3 separate regions of the Homo sapiens genome follow, and regions 1 and 3 are each linked to region 2. The links are contacts of gene promoters, found by promoter capture Hi-C in human tissues and cell types (Jung and others, 2019). All regions are on one chromosome and are shown on one strand. The core of a region is centred on a gene start or on the middle of the fragment in contact, and the rest is flanking DNA. Distances in the headings are between cores, read along the strand shown.

Region 1 (3,223 bases), core at 724-3,223, 210 kb before region 2:
CTGTGCAGCTGGCCTTCCGCAGGGCAGACAGAGCTGCAAGCGTGGTGATGGTCAAGCCTGCCGTGTCTGCAGGCCAGCATGGCCCTCACTCACCCAGCTGCCCCAGGACTGAGTCAGGCCCCGCCTTCACTTTCTCTTTCTTCTCAGTGCTGCCCTTGGAGCCCTCGCAGCCCTTCCTCTTCGAGTCACTCTTCTTGCCCTTTGCTCTCCTCCCAGACCGCTCTGTGTCAGGGAAAGTGAGAGGAGGAGGGAGATGGTTACCCTGAGTGGCCTCGGTCAGCACCAAGATCCCTGCGTGGCAGCCCAGGAGTCCTCCATCAGCCAGTGCTCACCCTCCACAGCAAAAAGGTTGGAGTTAGGGGATGGCTGGCATGGTGGGGTGGACCAACTGTCCACTGTGGCCTGTGGGGGACTTGGGGTGGCCACAGGGCCACGAGGAGAGGCCCTCGCAGGACCTGGACTCCAGTCTGACCTGCACAACCTGTAGTCTTGGGAGAGAGTGTGGGTGGTGGGAAGAATGGCTGGAAGGGAGTCTGGACAGGGCAGGGCCTTGAATGCCAGGCTGAGGAGCTAGACATGTAGGTGGAAGGAACACTACCTGAGGGGTCAAGAGGCTTGGGTTCCATTCCTAACCCCAGGGTCAGCAACCCTGAACCAGTCTCCTGCCATGGTCTCTTGGTTGGCTTTCAAAGTCAGGCAGCAAACTAGATGGGAGATTCAGGGTGCACCCCTGGCCCTTGTATCCTTTCAGTTCAGGCCAGGCCTCAGTCTCATCTGTTTTGGTTTGTTTTGAGAGAGAGTCTTGCTCTGTTGCCCATGATGGAGCGCAGTAGTACAATCATAGTTTACTGCAGCCTTGACCTCCCAGGCTCAAGCGATCCTCCAGCCTCAGCCTCCTGAGTAGCTGGGACCACAGGTGCATGCCACCACACCCGGCTAATTTTCAAATTTTGTAGAGACAGGGTCTTGCTATTTTGCCCAGACTGGTCTTGAACTCTTGGGCTCCAGTAATCCTTCCACCTTGGCCTCCCAAAGTGCTGGGATTACAGGTGCGAGCCACTGTGCCTGGCCACATCTGTTTATTTATTTATTTTTTAGAGACAGAGCCTGGCTCTGTTACCCAGGCTGGAGTACAGTGGTGTAATCATAGCTCGCTTGCAGCCTCAAACTACTGGGCTCAAGCAATCCTACTTCTGCTCCCCAAGCAGCTAGGAATACAGGCATGTGTCACCATGCTCAGCTAATTTTTGTATTTTTTTTTTTTTGTAGAGACAGGCTGGTCTGGAACTCCTGGCTTCAAGTGATCTTCCCACTGTGGTCTCCCAAAGTGCTGGGATTTTAGGCATGAGCCACTGTGCCTGGGCAATCTCATCTGTAACATGGCATGTAACTAATGCCTAGATACTCTGGAGGCAGGCTCCTGAGGCTCCCCACTGCTCTCAGGACAGTGTAAGCTCCTCCCCCAGGCTACAAGAAGATCTCGCACATGTGACCCAGGTTACCCGTCATCCCCACTTTAGGAGTCTTCCTTCTGCCTGGTGCAGCCATTCCAGCCTCCTTCCAGTTTCTCTGCCAAGACATGCTCTGGCCACTAAGTCTCCAAATATGCTGTTTTCTTCTCCTATCCTTCACCTGATTCAGTTCACAGGCCAAATATCATCTCCACTAGGAGGCTTTGTCCAGCCGCCAGGCCAGACAGCCTCGCCGATATGCACACAGCCCATGTCCCACCCCAGGCGTCAAGCCTCTCAACAGTGTGAGCAGCAGCTTTGGACAGGGCAAACCAGTCATCTCCAAATACCCTGCCCTGCCCTGAACAAAGAGCTGCCTGTTGTTGACACTCAAGACAAGGAGTTGCAAATGTCCCCAGAACCAATGTGGGGATGTGGACCCTCCAGGCTCTTGCCCATGCTTCTGGAATCCTGTGCCTGAGGGCACTGCTCGTGGCTTGCCACCCTCTGCTTCCTCAACTGTGGGTGCCTTGCATGGGCTTCTCCTTCTGCAGCCGATATGTGGCCACAGCCAAGTGCCTGAGATGTTGTTGGAGCATCACTGCTTCTGGGAAGACATCCCTGATACTTCTATCCCTAAACTGGCAGCAACTGTAGCGTCTGCGATACCACATTCCTCTCTCTCTCCAGATGGTGCATTCCACAAGGGCAGCAACCCTATCCAGTCCATGCTCAGTTAATGCTGGCTGAGTGAATAAACAGAAGATAGGGGGCCTGGAAAGCTCCAGCAGCCAGGAAGCTGCCACAGTCTTTGGGTACACGGTGAGCTCTACATGGTCATGACTAGCACCTGAACTTGGCAAGGCTAGATGTTGGGGCCAGAGTGGGTGGTGATGCCAAAGCACAATCAGGTCAGCTCAGCTCTGGGGCAGAAGTAGGGGCAGCAGAGGTCCTCAGTCATTTGCTCCAACGGTGGCTCAGCAGCTTTCCTCTCCAGGCCCAGCTCAGCCCTGAGGCTGAAGTGGCATTGGCAGACCCTGGCTCAAAATCTCTCTCCATCCAGCTATTTCTGCTGCATGTAAACGCAACACTGGGGTACTGTTTTGGGGGCTAAGTGTTGCCCTTCTTAACATGTATACGCTCCAAGAAGGGCCCTGTGTCTGGCAATATCCACAATTAACAGATACGATCAATGTCAGCGCTTCCTTCAGCCTTTGATTTCCAGATCCACTAAACGCATGTGACGCCAAGAGAATAAGAATAATAAGAATGAAACAGTGAAAAACACCGCGGATGCAGGGCATAAATCCTGTTAGGGTCAGAGAGAAACAACAGCCAGGTCCTGTCACATCTCTGGGACAGCTGCCTTCTTCGGAACTGACTCCCAGGCACACCAGGGTTCAGGGAAGCTCACCAGCTTCTGGCCCTTCCTGCCTCAGCACCAGCAGAGAGCCACTAGGACTTCTTCTCTGTACCTGTTCACATGCAATCAGCTCCTGAACTGCTGTGGCCTAGTCAACCAGAAAGCTCCCTGAGGGCAGGCCTGATGCCCACATTCCAACCTCTGGCTCTCTGCCTAGTGACGCACAACTCAGGACCCTTGCAGGCCCCCGTCTGGGCCTACTAATTGGATGGTGAAGGGTAGGAGTGGGGGCCAGTGGCCCTTGGCTCCACGCACATACCCCCACCAGGATCCAAAGACACACCCTCCTTGGGACCCAGCCCCGCAAGAGAGGGCACAGGGAGGTGGCGGCGGCAGGTGGGGAAGGCGC
Region 2 (3,116 bases), core at 350-2,849:
CGCAGCCTCCTTGCAAATATTTAGCCCACAACAAATAATATGCTTACACCAAGTTTGAGCCCACTATAAGATTTACTATGACATTCTTATTTATAGAAGGTATTTTATATTGTGGTTGAATAACTTTCTTTTTTTTTTTTTTTTTTTTTTTGAGATGGAGTCTCGCTCTGCCACCCAGGCTGGAATGTAGTGGTGCGATCTCCGCTCACTGCAAGCTCCGCCTCCCGGATTCACGCCATTCTCCTGCCTCCGCCTCCCGAGTAGCTGGGACTACAGGCGCCCGCCACCACGCCCAGCTAATTTTTTCTATTTTTTAGTAGAAATGGGGTTTCACCGTGTTAGCCAGGATGGTCTCGATCTCCTGACCTCGTGATCCGCCCGCCTGGGCCTCCCAAAGTGCTGGGATTACAGGCGTTAGCCACTGCGCCCGTCTGAATAACCTTCAAAGAAAAGACAATTCTGAATATTTTAGGTGATCAATGAAAACGATGACCACTTCTCCTTTCTCTCAATATAAACCCTAGCAGCATAGAAAAAACTTGAGAAGCTTCAAAAATACTAATTTATTTACGCTATCCCAATTAAATCAGGTGCTCTGGCATTGGGGCAGGGGTGTGGAGGTGGGGGTTGGGATGCTTTCTAAAAGCTCTCCAGGTGTGATTTAAATATGCATGCTGGGTGGGACCCACCAGACTAGATTTATTAAATAATGCCTTTCCTCTTATTTAGCGGAAGCATAGCGAGATTTCGCTTTTTTACATTTAACTCATTTTATAGAAGAAAGCAAAGAAAGCCCTATTCAATAAAGAAAGCACTCCCTAGGCACTTGGTCTAGTGATATGGTGGTTATTCATTAGGGACTGTCATTCCAGTTGAACTCTATGTCTACTTAAGCAGTTAGACACTGGCCTCTTTATTTCCGTGCTCTTGTACATCATTTCGTATATGGTGGAACTCTTCGAATTACTTGCTTTCCTAGAGTTTGACATGTGGTGAGGGAGGTTTTTTTTCTTTAAAAAAGATTACTAGCAGTTGGAAAAAATTAAAAGGCATATGGCAAGTGTTCAAGAAAAGTTTTTGATTTAAGAACCATCTTGACCGGGGGCGGTGGCTTACGCCTGTAATCCCAGCACTTTGGGAGGCCGAGGCAGGCGGATCACCTGATGTTGGGAGTTCGAGACCAGCCTGGCCAACATGGTAGAAACCCCGTCTCTACTAAAAATACAAAATTATCCGGGCGTGGTGGCACACGCCTGTAATCCCAGCTACTCGGGAGGCTGAGGCAGGAAAATCACTTAAACCTGGAAGGAGGAGGTTGCAGTGAGCCAAGATCAGCGACACTGCAGTCCAGCCTGGGCGACAGAGCTAGACTATCTCAAAAAAAAAAAAAAAAAAAAAAAAGATGCAGATCCTTCCTATCCACATTCAAAAGCAACCTTGTGAGGAGGCTCAGCTGCGACAGCAATCTGTACTCCCCTCCCCCATTCCCAAGCACAGCACTCTTCCACCTTGCGCCTACCCAGAGTAGGTTTCCGTTTCTTCCCACTTCCCCTTCCGGGTCGGGACCCTGCCCATGTTCCGGTCTTGCGCACGAGTCTAGAACGCAGCAACTCCGCCGGCGTTTCCATGGTGGCAAGTGGCCGGTTCCTTGCGGGGCTGAGCAACAAAGTAGTATCAGTGTTCGGTGGCTCCACTGGAACTACGCAGAGCCAGACCAGCGGGACCACAGAATGGGCTGAGGCGGCGGCGGCTGTTTGGATAAAGTCAACAGCGGGACGTGGGGCGTGACGCCGGTCCGGCATCCTAAGACGTGTGGTTTGAGTTGCGGGCGAGACCAGGCTTTTTTTAGGACCTTGGGCCTGATAAGTGGGCGACTGCAGTAGTGCGGGAACCTATTATTTGACAGGAACATGACAGGAAGTGTAGGGACCCCATGCTTGATGGATGGTGACTTATAGTGTGGTAGTCTCAGTGTTGATGGGCATGACCGAGACAGCAGGAGTACCCCTAAGTTCTGGTGAGAGGTGGAGCCTCAGAAGGACACCTTACTCAAGCTGTCTTTAGTTCCCAAAGACAAAAAGGCTCAGTGGAAAAGATTCCTTTTTTTTTTTTAATGTCTCTATATTTGAGACTGTGGGTTTATTGTGGATATGCATTATCTAGTTTTAATAAATAAAAGTATAAACGTTTAACATTTTCCATTTTCTTTCTTTATTTCTATAAAGTAGTAAAAGCCCAGCTTGAAAATGGAGATGTATGAAACCCTTGGAAAAGTGGGAGAGGGAAGTTACGGAACAGTCATGAAATGTAAACATAAGAATACTGGGCAGATAGTGGCCATTAAGATATTTTATGAGAGACCAGAACAATCTGTCAACAAAATTGCGATGAGAGAAATAAAGTTTCTAAAGGTTTGCTTCTTTTGCCTTAATCATCTAAGTCAAAAGAAAAAATTGTTATGGAATAAAAAATTGCATAAAATATTTTAGTTCACACGTACTGATTCATATTATGGAGAAACAAGTGTAATACTCTATCTTATCTACATTTTGTAATTTTATAGTGATACAAGATATATGTGTTTTGGGGTATGTAACAAAAGCTACACCAATATTGTTTAATAATTATTCAGAAATATTCAAGTATAATACTTAATAAAAATTTCTGCTATGTGCAAGGCATGGTGCTAGGTACTGAGACTATAAGGAGGTAAAAGATAGTTCCTGCCCTTAAAGACTTCTATAATTTAATCAGAAAGGAGAGTATATGAAAATCATACTGAATAAAAAGTGGCTCATAATAAATGCCAAGGAATCAACACAAAGTCCTTTCCCTGGTAGGGAAAGTTTTTTTGAGGAAATGGGACATGAATTTGGCTTTGAAGGATGTGGAGGGTTTAGATAAGAGGGAGAAACTGTTGTGTTCTAGGTTAGAGGAACAACATAAACTCAAAAGAGACTAAAGAAGGACAAAGGATAAAGGGCAAAGTGGAAAGGACAAAGAGCAAAGACATGTGCCTGTAGAGTTTTCTGAGCAGAATTGGAAAGAGGTATATTAGAACAGTAAATTGGAGGTAGATTTTAAAGTCTTTTAGGCTAAGGAGTCAAAACTTGATT
Region 3 (3,515 bases), core at 329-2,828, 250 kb before region 2:
TGTTTTGTTTCAGACAGGGTCTTTCTCTGTTGCCCAGGCTGCAATGCAGTGGTATGATCACAGTTCACTGCAACCTCTGTCTCCTGGGCTTAAGCCATCCTCCCGTCTCCCAAGTAGCTGGGACCACAGGCATGTGCCACCATGCCCAGTTAATTTTTATATTTTTTCAGAGACCAGGTTTCGATATGTTTCCCAGGGTGGTCTTGAACTCCTGAGCTCAAGTGATCAGCCTCTCTCAGCCTCCGAAAGTATTGGGATTACAGGCGTGAGCCACTGCACCTGGCCAAGTTTTTTGTTTGGGGGGCATTTTCTGGTAGATAAATTATGATCAGGTGATTTGACCTGTTCCTAAAATAATAAATTATAGGTGACCTCGCTCCCAGGGAGAATATTTAGATCTTGAATTAGTACTCATACCTTTTTATCAGCTAGTACTCCCTTCTCTAGCTTGAGGAATTAAAAAGTTTTTGTCTGAGGGATTGTGACATGATTGGTAAATAGTCCACCATCGCCTTGTTTACATAACCTGAATTTTTTCTTTCAGATTTTTTTTTTTTTGAGGTGGAGTCTCACTCTGTCGCCCAGGCTGGAGTGCAGTGGCACGACCTCCGCTCACTGTAAGCTCCACCTCCCGGGTTCACGCCATTCTCCTGCCTCAGCCTCCCGAGTAGCTGGGACTACAGGCACCCACCACCACGCCCGGCTAATTTTTTGTATTTTCGGTAGAGACGGGGTTTCTCCGTGTTAGCCAGGATGGTCTTGATCTCCTGACCTTGTGATCCGCCTTCCTCGGCCTCCCAAAGTGCTGGGATTACAGGTGTGAGCCACCGCGCCCAGGCTTCTTTCAGATTTTAAAGCCATATTACTTTATTTTATTTGTGTAGAGACAGGGTCTTGCTCTGTCATGTAGGTTGGAGTGCCGTGGTATGATCATAGCGCACCATTTAAACTCCCAGGTGCAAGTGATCCTCCTGCCTCTGCCTCCCAAAGTGTTGGGATTAAAGATAGGAGCCATTGCACCATGTACTATTTTAAGCACTAATTCAGTAGATACATTACAATTTTATACATGGCTGGTAACTCAATTTGTTAACCAGTTATTTTTCTAGTCTTAATAACCTCAACAATATCTAATGTACACCACAGAATTAATCTAAAGAAAACAAGGCATATATTGACACACAGGAAGTTTTAAAACAAGGGTGGGTGTGGTGGCTCATGTCTGTAATCCCAGCACTTTGGGAGGCTGAGGCAGGAGAATCACTTGAGCCCAGGAGTTTAAGACCAGCCTGGGCAACATACTGAGACTCCATCTCTACAAAAACAAAAACAAAAAATTAGTCTGGCATGGTGGCATACACCTGTAGTCCTAGGTACTTGGGAGGCTGAGGCAGGAGGATCACTTGACCCTAGGTGTTCAAGGCTTCACTGAGCTATGATTGCACCACTGCACTCCTAACCTGGGCAACAGAGTGAGACCCTGTCTCTAAAGAAACAAAAAATACCAAAAAAATTGAAAGTTTTTTTTTTTTTGAGATGGAGTCTTGCTCTGTTGCCCACGCTGGAGAGCAATGGCACGATCTCGGCTCACTGCAACCTCTGCCTTCTGAGTTCAAGCAATTCTCCTGCCTCAGCCTCCCAAGTAGCTCAGATTACAGGCATGTGCTACCACACCCAGCTAATGTTTTGTATTTTTAGTAGAGACGGGGTTTCAACATGTTGGCCAGGCTGGTCTCAAACTCCCGACCTCAGATGATCCGCCCACCTCAGTCTCCCAAAGTGCTGGGATTACAGGCATGAGCCACCACACTTGGCCAAAAATAATGTTTTTTAATAATGACTCTAATTTTTTTTTTTTCCTTTTTTGAGACAGAGTCTCACTCTGTTGCCTAGGCTGAAGTGCAGTGGCACCATCTCGGCTCCCTGCAACCTCTGCCTCCTGGGCTCAAGCAATTCTCCTGCCTCAGCCACTGGAATAGCTGGGATTACAGGCATGTGCTACCAAGCCCAGCTAATTTTTGTATTTTTAGTAGAGACCAGGTTTCGCCATGTTGGCCAGGCTGGTCTCGAACTCCTGGCCACAAGTGATCCACCTGCCTTGGCCTCCCAAAGTGTTGGGATTACAGGCGTGAGCCACCACACTTGGCTGACTCTGTAAATTATTTAATAAATTTTATTTTGCATTTAAGGTTATGTAACGAATTTGAGAATAAAGTTAATGTTAAAGTGGGTAAATTATTAGAAACAGAAACCTAATTTAACCTGTGACCTTACTTTTACAGGTGAAAATTTTATGAATCAGATAGACACAGAGTTTAAAGACAAGTTAATCTATAGATTAATTATGAAATAGTAAGTGTAGCCTTAATAATGAATATAAAATTGAGAACTGGACCAAAAAGTAGATAATACTGTAATTATTTAGTCCAGTAAATGTTCAAAGAACAAAGAATGAGGATAGAACAAAACAAAGTATTTTATCTATAAAACAATTAGTGAGGTTGGAAAAGGAAATTGACAAATCTTTTTTTTCTTTTTATTTTTTTTGAGATGGAGTCTCGCTCTGTCACCCAGGCTGGAGTGCAGTGGCACGATCTCGACTCACTGCAACCTCCGCCTCCCAAGTTCACACCATTCTCCTGCCTCAGCTTCCCGAGTAGCTGGAACTACAGGTGCCCGCCACCACGCCTGGCTAATTTTTTGTATTTTTAGTAGAGACAGGGTTTCACTGTGTTAGCCAGGATGGTCTCGATCTCCTGACCTCGTGATCTGCCCGCTTCGGCCTCCCAAAGTGCTGGGATTACAGGCGTCAGCCACTGCGCCCGGCCAACAAATCTTTTTTTTATATTAGGAGAAAAAAGTGGGGCTTGGCAAGTAAGATTCTGATATAAGAACAATTCTGTTAAAGAAAAAATGATCATGGTGAAATTGAGTAGATAAAATTGTCTGCAAAAACAGCGTAATTTCCAACCTGGCCAACATCGTGAAACCCGTTCTGTACTAAAAATACAAAAATTAGCCGGACACGGTGGCACGTGCCTGTAATTCCACCTACTCGGGAGGCAGAGACAGGAGAATTGCTTGAACCCGGGAGGCGGAGGTTGCAGTGAGCCAAGATGGCGCCACTGCATTCCAGCCTGGGCGACAGAGGGAGACTCTGTCTCGAAAAAAACAAAAAACACAGAAAAAAAACCCAACAAAAACCAGCATAACTGGAAGAGACTACAGAGTGGTCTTAAATATTAGGTGTAAGTCATTTTTTAATTTTTTGACGTTGCTCTATTTCATTTATTCAAATATTTATTGAGCACCTACTTTATGTCAGACATTGTTCTGGATACTAGGGGAAAACAGATGCTATCTCAACCTTTCCTGCAGCTCACATTCATTTCAACTCATATTTTTTAATTAATCAAAAGCATATGTGATCTATTCTGGTGTGGAAAAGAAAACATTTTTGAAAAGGAAAAAAAAGCATATGTGAAAACCTACATATATCCTATGATCTGGCAGTT

What was found. Contacts are between HindIII fragments. The study calls those that stand out against the background at their distance.
Region 1: a contact is called between a fragment that was not itself captured here and the fragment with the promoter of CDKL3 in region 2, in 2 of the 25 tissues and cell types used here (dorsolateral prefrontal cortex and spleen).
Region 3: a contact is called between a fragment that was not itself captured here and the fragment with the promoter of CDKL3 in region 2, in 1 of the 25 tissues and cell types used here (dorsolateral prefrontal cortex).

Annotation. Positions count from the first base shown.
Region 1 is chr5:134,573,767-134,576,989 of GRCh38, reverse strand. It overlaps JADE2 (jade family PHD finger 2), which reads right to left. Exons shown (of 12, transcript NM_001388185.1): 11 at 94-222. Among named protein-coding and RNA genes, the nearest start is that of JADE2, 50 kb to the right of the region's middle. The HindIII fragment of the contact is 9,141 bases long and covers 1-3,223 here.
Region 2 is chr5:134,365,654-134,368,769 of GRCh38, reverse strand. It overlaps CDKL3 (cyclin dependent kinase like 3), which reads left to right and starts at 1,599. Exons shown (of 13, transcript NM_001113575.2): 1 at 1,599-1,793; 2 at 2,226-2,411. The coding sequence starts at 2,247. The HindIII fragment of the contact is 10,082 bases long and covers 1-3,116 here.
Region 3 is chr5:134,617,349-134,620,863 of GRCh38, reverse strand. All of the region lies in intron 3 of SAR1B (secretion associated Ras related GTPase 1B), which reads left to right. Among named protein-coding and RNA genes, the nearest start is that of SAR1B, 14 kb to the left of the region's middle. The HindIII fragment of the contact is 7,270 bases long and covers 1-3,515 here.